Regions from separate parts of the Homo sapiens genome. Here region 1 is linked to region 2. Evidence: promoter capture Hi-C in 16 types of primary human blood cells and fetal thymus (Javierre and others, 2016). All regions are on one chromosome and are shown on one strand. The core of a region is centred on a gene start or on the middle of the fragment in contact, and the rest is flanking DNA. Distances in the headings are between cores, read along the strand shown. Region 1 overlaps STK17B (serine/threonine kinase 17b). Region 2 holds the start of HSPD1 (heat shock protein family D (Hsp60) member 1).

Region 1 (5,728 bases), core at 589-3,088, 1.3 Mb after region 2:
AAGTTCTTCCTTTACTTTTGATGGACGTTAAATCTCTTTTTCAGTTTCCTAGGGAAAGCTTGCTAGCAGTAAATGCCTTAAATGCCTATGTAGAAAGGAGTTGCTTCCCTTAGAATCTTCGGGCTTACTTTGCTTCCTGTTGCCTTTCCAATGTACTTCATGATGATCTAGACTTATCAGTGATAAATCTTGATAGGACACTTACCTGAATCTCCTGATTTTTGGAGGCTCTTAAAAGAGTGATGTTCTTAACTGCAGTAGGTATTTGTATTAGTAGCTTATATTAAAAACAAGTAGCCACCTTGTCTGGAAACAGTGGTAAAAACAAAAGGTCTATTGGCATTACATTATAGTATATGACAAAATAATTTTATCTGTGTTTCCAGACTTTGTGGCTACCTGTTTAGAACTGACATTTTGTAAGTGCAATTTAAAATAGTTACTTTATTTGTCCAAATGCTGAATTAAGCAGAGACTAGCTGCATTCAGAGCTCCAGTACTGTAAATTCAAGATGGATCTCAAGTTCTCCTAACCCCTCGAAGACATGAGATATACCTACAAATTCTTTTTTCTATATCTCATAATTCTTACAATTCAGTTCATCAAACATTTTTAAAATTCCTACCGGGTGGCAGATACCATGCTGGTTGCTTAGGCACAAAAGTAAAAGGATGCTGCCCTTTAAACACTGAACAGAATTGCAATCTAACATGTTACATTTTGAGGTAAAGAAGTATGCCAAGGATCCTCTTATTTGAAGCATAAAGGAGAAGCCTTTAAATCAGCCTGTGGTTTTTAGGCAAAGCTTCCTGGGGGAGAGGCCATTCTGTGTTGAGTTTTGAAGGATGTGTAAGAAGAGTTAGCCATTTAAGGAAAGTAGAAAGGCTTTTTCAGGCAAAGAAGTATAACAAAGATGTGGTGGCAAAATATGAAATATGAGTGCGGCAGGAAATGTAGCTGGTGTATACTTGGCCTCAGAGGCCTTTATGTGTCATGCTGTAAGTACTTGAAAGCTTGTAGATACTGGGGAGCTAATGAAGGAATCAAAACAGACAATTTGATTTTCTAAATGTCTTTATTATTGTATATTCTATTTTTTAAAAACTTTCTTATTTGATAATTTTGAAATAAATATCATGATAAATACTTTTTAAAATAGAGCTAGAGGTTTATAGAGATAGTCTTGCTTTTGTTCACATCACACTTGCTTTCTGCATTCAAGTAAGTGAAGGCCCAGATCAAGCCTAACATTTCCTTCTTTTCCTTCCTTCACTGATCTACTTCCAAATTCTTTTGGTAATTATTATAATGAGAATTAATGAAAAAAATCTTTAAAAATAAGTGAGATACCATTATTTGTAGTAGTACTGTGTGATTAAAAGCTTAATTGTGTCTTACCTTCTATTACACTTTTTATAGGATCTAATCGTGTATACACATGCATATAAATTTACTTACCAGGTCCCTTAAGATTTTTTTTAAATGCTATAACCTGATAAAATGTTATGAAATGAATTTCAAATGGAGTGAGACATATAGGTAATTTAGAATCGGTAATATGAAGTGTGGTAGAAGACAAGAAAAGGCCTGGGAATTGTTGGAGTTAAAGAGAATTTGGTGGGAAATTTAGGAAGATACAAGAAGGAGCGACAGAGAGCTGACTCATAACCTGCATGTACCTTATATGAAGGGCAACCAGATGTTTGAGGAGGGCTTGGTGGACAAAGGTGACATTCATGCTCCACTATATGCAAAACTGGCCAAAGGAGAGGAAATGGAAAAATATCTTGGCTCTGACAATTGGTTCAGATGCAGTAAATAAAAGGAAAATGAACTTAAGAAATGCTTAATGGATGCCTAAAGCAGCTTGTGATGTAGGTATATTTTTAATAAATAGATGAACTTATGAGGAAATTGGTACCCATATTGATCTTTCAGAACAATGGAAAAAAATCAGTGAAACTGAGCGCTATCAGAACTAAGAAGATACATAAGTAGTTAAAACAGAAAACAAAAATACTTTTAAGAATGAAGTTTAGACTAAGTTGGGATGAGAATTTTGTACATGGAAACAGTACAGCTGTTCAACAATGGCAGGGAACTGCAGGGAGAGTATTTTTGGGTAGAATGTTAATTTTGTTTTGTGGAACAATAGCGATATGCCCTTGTGACTTGCACTGTACCTGTGTCAGTGGACATGAGTTCAGCATATTTTAATTTTTAATCCTTGCAGCACTGGAAGATCAATTCTTTTATCATCCATACTTTAGAGGCAGCAAAATCGAAGCTTTCTTCACCAGTAAAAGGGAATGCGAAGTAAATCACAACAAAATTCCATTTCACCTTCATCACACTAGAATAGCCAAACTTAAAAGTCTGAATTGGGCAAGTATTGTCAAAGTAGTGATAAACCGTCCCATCCAGTGCTAGTGGGAGTGTAAACTGGGGGTGGAAAGAAGGGGCTATGTCTAATATGTTTTATTTTTAATTTAAATGAAATATGACCAAGTAATAAGATTGGAAAGTAAATGTTTGTATATAGTGTTCCTTATCTTACATTTGAAATATTATATATTTTGTTTTCTTTTTAAATAACTGTGTTGCCGCAGATCAGGCGACTTAACAGAAGTATATTTTCTCAACGATTCTGGAGGCTAGAAATCTGGGATCAGGGTGTCTGCGGGGTTGGTTTCTTCTGAGGCCTGCCCTCTTGGCTTGTAGATGGCTGCCTTCTCCTAGTGTGTTCACATAGTCTTTCCTCTGTGTGTGTCTGTGTCCTAATTGGCCCACTTTAATGACCTCATTTTAACTTAATCACCTTTTTAAAGGCCCTGTCTCCAAAGACAGTCACATTATGAGATACAGGGGTTAGGGTTTTTCAACTTAGGAATTTGGGGGAGGACACAATTCAGCCCATAACAATAGCAAAGTTAAATAATTTAATTAAGGTCTCATAGCTGGTATGATGGATGAATGGAATTCAGACCCAGGTGTCTTTCAGTCTAAAGGTTATTCTCAGAATGCTACACTACAACCCTTTGACTCCTAGAGATGTACCCCAAAACTAGTTAGAGCTGTTTCCCCAAAGACTAAGAGATGTAGAGAAAACAATTTTACTATCTAGTTATGTGAAAGCTATAATTTTAATTTAATTTTTTGAGACAAGGTCTCCATCTATCGCCCAGGCTGAACTGCAGTGACGCGTTCATAATTTGAGAATAACACCAAGAAGAGAAAATGTAGAAACTGAAAACGCTGAACTCTAATGACACTGCTTTTTGGCTAAGTAGACTATAGTTGGCATTTGAATTTAAGAAGATAAAGAACAGTACATATAAGTAGAAAATAGGAAAAAAAGATGTCAGAGGAGGAACAAATGCTTAGCGGGTTACTACAGGAGGGTGCTAAAAGAATAATAATTGATATTTTATTAAGTAGGCATAGCAATAAGTCATAAGTGTCTTGAAATATAGTATCTGTTATTGTTTTATGAATGCAATTAATATAATAGTTTTGATAACACTGAATGCATATAAACATCACAAATTTCCAGATACATATATGAGCTTCAGATACAGAACTTCGAAATAAAGCTTTATGTATAGGTTAGTCACTCTTCCAACAAAATTATTGAGCACTTCATACATAGCAGGCTCTGTGCTAGGTCCTGTCAAAGGAGGGACTCTTAAGACCTTTGAGAGTTTCTGAGTTTAGTACTGAAACATAGCCAATCCGTGGAAGAAGTTCTATTTCTTGTAGTCCTTCACGTCAGTAATATAACTCACAATATGTGCATTTACCACCAAATTTCTTTAGCCATGTGAAAATAAGTTTAAAATGAATAATTATTATCTTGTCGTATTAAATTACCTATTATGTGAAACCTATAACTTTATTTATTTATTTATTTATTTATTTATTTATTTATTGAGATAAGATCTCGCTTTATTGCCCAAACTGAACTGCAGTAGCACATTCATAGCTCACTGCAACCTCAAACTTCTGGGCTCAAGTGATGCTCCTGCCTCAGCCTCCCAAGCAGCTGGGACTACAGGTGCGAGCCACTACACCCAGTTAATTTTTAAATTTTTTCATAGAGATGGGATCTCGCTATGTTGCCAGGACTGGTTTTGAACTTCTGGCCTCAAGTGATCCTCCTGCCTCAGCCTCCCAAAGTGCTGGGATTATAGGCGTATACCACCATGTCCAGCTGAAACCTCTATAACTTTAAAGAATGGAGTTTTATGATGAAACTAAGTGATTGTTTGCATTATAATTTTATCATAACTATTTTTTTTAAATTGAGAGGATTTTTACCGTAGTTTTATTCTGAAATGAAGTCAGTAACTTCGTTCAAGTGCCATAGTGTTATTATGGTTTATGTGTATGCTTTTTGTTTTTTCCTCCTTGTGGATAGAATGTGCTCTTTAAATCTTTTTTTTTTTTAGTTGTATTTTATAGCTATATTTGGAGCTGTGTAATGTAATGCACATCCTGCCTGAGATAACATCTTTTCTCTGTATTCTCTTTTTTTGCATAGGTAAAAATAAGTGACTAAAGAAGCAGACCTGGGAATCACCTAACATGTCGAGGAGGAGATTTGATTGCCGAAGTATTTCAGGCCTACTAACTACAACTCCTCAAATTCCAATAAAAATGGAAAACTTTAATAATTTCTATATACTTACATCTAAAGAGCTAGGGAGGTAAGAAAACCATATGACGTGTATGCCATCTAAATTCAAATTTTGGATTTGTGTTTTTATAATTCTATAAAACTCACTTGGGATCATTATTTAACAATGATTAGGAAGGAAAGTTGTGATCTCTGTTGCTGTTACCTAGGGTCCAGTCTTAACTGACTTGAAAATCAAATCTGTGGAGGGTTTAGTGAACTTAAATCATACATCCTACCTAGCCTCAGAGCCTCTGATAGGAGGTCTCTGTCGTTACATGAGGCTGTGCATGGGAAGAGGCAGCTCAGCATAGTGGACTGCCGAGTTCAAGTTTGGACTCCACCAGTTACTAGGTGTGTGACTTCAACTAAATAACTGTACCTCTTTTTTTAATTTTTGTTTGTGGCGGGGTCTCACTCTGTTGCTCAAGCTGGAGTGCAGTGACATGATCTTGGCTCACTGCAACCTCCTGTCTCCTGGGCTCAAGGGATCTGCCACCTCAGCCTCCTAAGTAGCTGGGACTACAGGCACACACCACCACACTGGGCTGGTTTTTTGTAGAGACAGGGTTTCTCCATGTTGCCCAGGCTGGTCTCCAACTCCTGGGTTCAAGCAATCCTCTGGCCGTGGCCTCCCAAAGTGCTGAGATAATTGGTGTGAGCCCCTGCGCCCTGCCTACTGTACCTCTTAGTGCTGTCGTTTCCTCATCTGAAAAGTAGGGGTGAAGATAATTGTGTCTGTCTTATATGGTTGTTATGAGGATTAAGTTAGTTAATATTTGTAAAGTGCCTAGTACAGTGCTCTGTAAGTTTTTGTTAAATGAAATATTTTTTTAAATTCCTAGGGTATTGTGCTTGGCTTAAAAAAAAAAAAAAAAGAAGAAGAAGAAGAAATAGGGAGATTCTCCCCCTCTCCTAAGTTGAACAAAAAGAATGAATTCATATTTCATAGTCTGATTCTATGTCACAACAAATGAGTGGTTTATAAGTAAAAAGCCTTTACAAATTGTTTTCTCTTAACCAGTGTATAAACTCTGTACGGCCAAGGAGTG
Region 2 (5,824 bases), core at 1-2,500:
TAAACGCTTGTCCTGCCTGTAGGAAGAGAAATGTTTTGAAACAAAAACTAAATGTAATCACATTATCAACAGGCAACGCCACCGTGCTATACATCTCAACACGTTTTGGCTTTGAAAGTTAACACCAAACCTCAGCTTATTCGTTAAGGAAGCGCATTTGAATGTACTAACCAATATTCCAAGTTTAATTCCCGATTCCTTACGTCTGTTAGGGGTCGTTGTCGCTCCTCCGGTGAGCAACCAGACCAGCTTTAAGGTCAACCTTAGTTTATTCCAAGGTCAAATGTTTTCCTTCTTCAGGTTTTTCCAGAAATTTTCAGGAAACGCTGGGTCAAGCTCCCTGCCTGGCACCATGATTTTTACCCAAGATATTACACATCCACAAAGGCCCTGCAGAAGCAGGTGAGACGCTGCGCGTGCGCCCGGGTTCTCGCCCCCCTGCCTTACACACCGGCAGCACACGCGCGTGCAAAGAGCCCTGGGGGAGAAAAGGGTCGGGCGGGCCTTGCCGCTCCAAGGTGCCATCGGGCGCTGGTCACTGAGTGGCCACCAATCCCTCCCGCCCAGCCCAACAAAAGAGGGGCGTCAGGGATCCCCGTACGCCTCAGACAGGCCCGGGCCTGCAGGCCTCGGGGCCACGCGGGACTCACCATTACTCCCTCCGCCTCAGACTCGTACTCTGCTCTAGTGTAGCGCCGCAAAGAGACTCGCAGTCCGGCCCTGGCGACACGTGAAAAAATCACCCAGCGCGCAGGCGCGCTCGCCCCAGCGGTCGCCGCTAGCCCCCTCGCCCCTCCCAGGGAGGGAGGGCGGTCGCCCCGACGCGCACCGCGATTCGCCCCAAGGGCCCTGCGCAGGACGCTGACGCGAAGACTCGGAGGCGGAAGAAAAAAGGAGCTGTTTCTAGGCTTTTCTAGGCGCCCAGCCGAGGTGAAAGAACTACCCCTTCGTCCCCTCCCGGAAATGACGCGATTTGACCCTTGAGCCGTAGGGAGCGCGGCATTTTCTGGAAAGTTCTGGAACCGAGCGAGGCCCGGGAACTAGACTAAGCCGGCCGGAGAGGGCTGAGCGCGCTAGCACACCCTGCGCGGGTAGGGAGGGGCGGGGCTCGCGCGCAGGGTGTGCAGATTGCAGGGCCCGGGCTGACGGGAAGTGGGTGGGAGCTGCCTGCACACGCGGTGCCGCGGGGCGGGAGTAGAGGCGGAGGGAGGGGACACGGGCTCATTGCGGTGTGCGCCCTGCACTCTGTCCCTCACTCGCCGCCGACGACCTGTCTCGCCGAGCGCACGCCTTGCCGCCGCCCCGCAGGTACGCGGCCTTCCCGCACCACCTCCCCCCGGCTCCTGCGACCCCCGAGTGGGCCTTCCTCCTCTGCGGTCCAGCTGGAGGGTGCGGGCGGCGACAACCTGGAGTTCCGCACCGCGCCGCACCGCAGGCCCAGGCCTGCGGGTCCAGGCCTCGCGGGTCCATGCGGGTTCCATCACGTGCGACGCGGATCCTGGACCTCGGCTGGGCGCGGGAGGGACAACTCGTGGGGTTTGAATTTGGGGGATTGTAACCACTTAGGCCCGCTGGTGCAACCTGCGCCTGGCCGACTTCAGGGAACCGGGGAGGGTGGTGTACGTGAGGGAACCGCTTTTTTCCCCCGCAGGCAGCTGGGATACCGCGCCTCCAGTCTTGACCTTGCTGGGGGCGTTCGGAAAGAAGGACACGTGGGCTCGCGCCGAGTGGGCCGGGCCGCCGCCCCCAGCATCGCGGCCTTGCTGGTTGCTCTGATACAGTAGCCTTGGGTGGATCCATGGAGACACTTTGCTGAGCGGCTTTTTGCACCGTCAGGAATACTTTTAACTTCCCTGGTCACTTGGATTTGTAACTTGCCTCTCTCCGGCTGACTTGGTTTCTCAGGGGCCACAGTTGGAGTGGGTCTGCCCACAAGGCCGTTTTCGCGGTGAAAGATTAACTCGTTTTTGGCGGCAGGGATAGGTGGCCGTGGGGAAGGAGCCGCATGTGCTTTGTGCTGGTGCTATAGGTCAGGCGCCGGCCGGGGCGGCCTCTTTAGCTTGCGCTAGTGGCTGATGTTCCGAAGCTGCGGCGCCTTCCGTCATTCAGGCGTAGTGGCTGGCGGAGGTCAGCCAGGCTCAGCATCTCACGTTGCTTGCTCTGTTGCACAGGTGGGCATGTTTGTTCTGCAGCGCACCACGGGTGGTAGTTCTGATGATCTTTTTGCTTCCATCCCCAGAAATGCTTCGGTTACCCACAGTCTTTCGCCAGATGAGACCGGTGTCCAGGGTACTGGCTCCTCATCTCACTCGGGCTTATGCCAAAGATGTAAAATTTGGTGCAGATGCCCGAGCCTTAATGCTTCAAGGTGTAGACCTTTTAGCCGATGCTGTGGCCGTTACAATGGGGCCAAAGGTACCAGTATTTTTATTTTATTGTAATTACGGTATTATTAATAGCATTTTACTCACAAATAGTCGCACTGAACTATTCAACAGTACTTTCATCTCCATTTTTGAGAGAACTCAGTTTACATGTAAGAATTCTGAAGTATTGGTTAGCCTTTTTTTCTTAGACATGATCTTAAAGCTTAAACTGCTTCAGCCAGATTTTCGAAACTATTTTGTTCAATGTGTGATGTAATCAGGTAGTAACTTACAGCTCAAGGTGGATTCTTAAACTCGAGGTAGAATTTCGCTGGCTTAAGTTAAAATTTGGATCCTTTCCCAGTAGTTCATGCCAAGTGTAGAGAGAAGAGTTTAACTTATCTTCCATAATTCCTTAGGTATGTGCTTGTAGATGCTAAATTTTTTTTTGGTTTATTGTAGTAAAATGTACACAACATAAAATTACCATTAAGTGTGCACTTTGGGGACATCAATTACATTTATGTTGTGCAGTCATCACCACCATCCATCTCCAAAACTTTTTATATGGAAAAATTGTAACTTTGTACTCATTAGACAGTAGCTTCCCATTCTCTCCTCCACCCCAAGATGCTAGTTTTACCCATCGGTTTTCTGCTGTTCTCTTGTTCCAAAGCATATTTAAAATAAGTCTCATTTAATAGGGGTAATGTTTTGAGGAGGCCTTTGAAGGTGGTGTGCAGTCAAGTGGTGCTTCATTTCAGTTTGAAGACAGTTCAGATATCAAGTGATCCAACAACTGCCTAAAATACAACATTTGCACACCTCACAAATAGAAAGTAGCAGCTTTAGTTCAAATCCAAAGGATGGCCAATAATTGTGCCATGGTTGAAGTTTTATGTTGCGTGAACCTGGAAGAGCACGCTACTTGCCTTGATGGTTAATATTTTAGTTAAACGGATTTTAAAACAAGTCACATTACTTTAAAAGATAACAGGCACTAACTAAAGTATAAGTGATAGGAAGATTGTTTTATTCTTTGTCTTGTGTTCTTGTTCATTTTATAAGATGACAAGTTTTAGTCCCTAGGATTTTAATCTCCTAAATTACCTAGTTCAAAATTATGCTCTTGGCAGAGAATCAGGTCATTTTGTCTGTAGACAAAGAATGTCGATAAACTTGCCCTTGAGGTTCATGCTGCAAGACTGATAAAAATGACACAACTTACGTTGAGACTTTGAAGTAGTTGCTTTATTATGAAGACTGCTCATTTTTAAAAATGTAAATCATCCTTAGGGTATGTCTGATCCTGTTACATTTTTTTCTTCTAGGGAAGAACAGTGATTATTGAGCAGAGTTGGGGAAGTCCCAAAGTAACAAAAGATGGTGTGACTGTTGCAAAGTCAATTGACTTAAAAGATAAATACAAAAACATTGGAGCTAAACTTGTTCAAGATGTTGCCAATAACACAAATGAAGAAGCTGGGGATGGCACTACCACTGCTACTGTACTGGCACGCTCTATAGCCAAGGAAGGCTTCGAGAAGATTAGCAAAGGTGCTAATCCAGTGGAAATCAGGAGAGGTAGGAATGTCTGTTGTCACCACAGTGTTCTAAACTTCAGTGTGCTTTAAGGCATTGATTCCTTGGACCTAAGGAAAGTGTTAACTTGAGGAAATTAATCCTTCTCTCATTCCTCCTCTTGGCCTGGAGAAATCTTAAACTGGGTTTTCCTTTAGCAAGCTTGGCTGTATGGTGGGTAGGTACTGTTAGGTAATTTTGATATTTTACTTAGTTGGTTTCTTTTGTTTTTAGAGACAGGGTCTTGCTCTGTAGCCCAGGCTGGACTGCACTGGAACTCCTGGGCTCAAGCAATCCTCCTGCCTCAGCCTCCAAGTAGCTGGGACTACTACAGGCACTCACCACCATTCCTGGCTAATTTTTAGTTTAGTTTTGTAGAAAGTAAGACTAAATACACTGGATCATTCAGAATGTCAGAAAGTAATGTTTTCCTCAGTTTATTTTTTCTTAATAGCACACACCATGTTATTGGTTTGTGTTTTGTTAGTGCTTGTAACTAGAGTGCAACTTAATTAACAATTTGCTCCTCCTCATGAGGTTCATGGCAGTATAGACTTAAATTCTAGTCCCATGTTTGTCATTTATTAGCTGTGTGCTAAGACTTGGTTTTCCTATCAGCAGAATTGCTATGTATATCTAGGGTATGTTAGGGTTCAAACCAGGAACCCTCTTGTAAGTGAAGGTGGGGGGAGCTATTGGTAATTTTTTGTCAGAATTGGCATACTAATTTATTACTACATTACTAATGTATCATTACCTCATCTATTTCAGTGTTTATGGGCCAAGTGAATATACTTCACTAAAAGCAGTTTTACTGTAAATCACTAACAAGTATTAATTAAGGTTATGAAGAGGACTTACCAGCACCTTGCATTGGATTTTTTTTGAAGTAACAGTTCTCAAACAAGAGAGCTAGCACTATTCCCAATTGAGCAAAATGGGACTATTAAGACTGATGTAAAACAAAAATATTTTGTTAGTTCATAATACGTACTAAATTGAGGGGATTTCAGATAATTGACACCTGCAGAGGCATAGTCACAACAGATTCCTATCATTTAAGAACTGTACTTCTTGTTGAAAATAAGGGAGTGTTAGCCATTTTGGTCCTTTTTTGCATCATCTAATGGACATGAGAAGTGTCGTGGACCCTATTGGAAACAGCATGATTGGGTTAGGAATTTGCATAGGATGAGTTCAGTGGTGAGACTTTTGAAACTACACACATCTACCTTGTTTTAGTCCTATTTTCAAAATTTTGGCATTGTGAGATTTTATTTACTGTGTGAACCTAAAGTTACTGTTTAAGTACATGCCACGCAACTCTGTGTTATTAAGAAGCACTGTCTCAGAAGCTGTGTGTAAATTTAATATTAAGGCACTAAAGACCAAGCATAGGTACATGCCTGTAGTCCCAGCTACATGGGAAGCTGAGGTGGGAGGATTGCTTGAGCCCAGGAGTTCAAGACCACCTTGGGCAACATAGTGAGACCTTGTCTACAAAAATAAAAGAAGCTGAGCATGGTGGCTTGAGCCTGTGGTCTCAGCTACTCCCTTGAGCCCAGGATGTCAGGGCTGCAGTGAGCCATGATCTGTGCTACTGCACTCTAGCCTGGGCAGCAGAACAAGACCCTGTCTCAAAAAAAAAAAAAATTTTTTTTTTTAAGTTAAGGCATTAAAATATTTGTCACAAATCTCAAGATTTCTACTTGACATAGAAGCCATGAGAGAAATAAACATTGTAATGACATATATCGTTGAACTAGGTGTGATGTTAGCTGTTGATGCTGTAATTGCTGAACTTAAAAAGCAGTCTAAACCTGTGACCACCCCTGAAGAAATTGCACAGGTAAGGACTTAACATGTTACACGTTTTT

The links. Contacts are between HindIII fragments. The CHiCAGO score rates a contact against its expected background, and 5 or more counts as called.
Region 1: a fragment that was not itself captured here is called in contact with the fragment with the promoter of HSPD1 in region 2 in 1 of 17 cell types (fetal thymus); the score reaches 5.9 in fetal thymus.

What each region holds. Positions count from the first base shown.
Region 1 is chr2:196,162,241-196,167,968 of GRCh38, reverse strand. STK17B (serine/threonine kinase 17b) reads left to right here. Exons shown (of 8, transcript NM_004226.4): 2 at 4,542-4,707. The coding sequence starts at 4,586. Among named protein-coding and RNA genes, the nearest start is that of STK17B, 6.5 kb to the left of the region's middle. RefSeq lists an enhancer at 739-808. The HindIII fragment of the contact is 905 bases long and covers 1,386-2,290 here.
Region 2 is chr2:197,495,266-197,501,089 of GRCh38, reverse strand. HSPD1 (heat shock protein family D (Hsp60) member 1) reads left to right here and starts at 1,250. Exons shown (of 12, transcript NM_002156.5): 1 at 1,250-1,308; 2 at 2,240-2,415; 3 at 3,698-3,950; 4 at 5,714-5,796. The coding sequence starts at 2,242. HSPE1-MOB4 (HSPE1-MOB4 readthrough) reads right to left here and starts at 711. Exons shown (of 9, transcript NM_001202485.2): 1 at 651-711; 2 at 1-16. The coding sequence starts at 653. It overlaps HSPE1 (heat shock protein family E (Hsp10) member 1), which reads right to left and starts at 711. Exons shown (of 4, transcript NM_002157.3): 1 at 651-711; 2 at 1-16. The coding sequence starts at 653. RefSeq lists an enhancer at 591-650 and silencers at 791-850, 1,041-1,370. The HindIII fragment of the contact is 3,758 bases long and covers 1-2,591 here.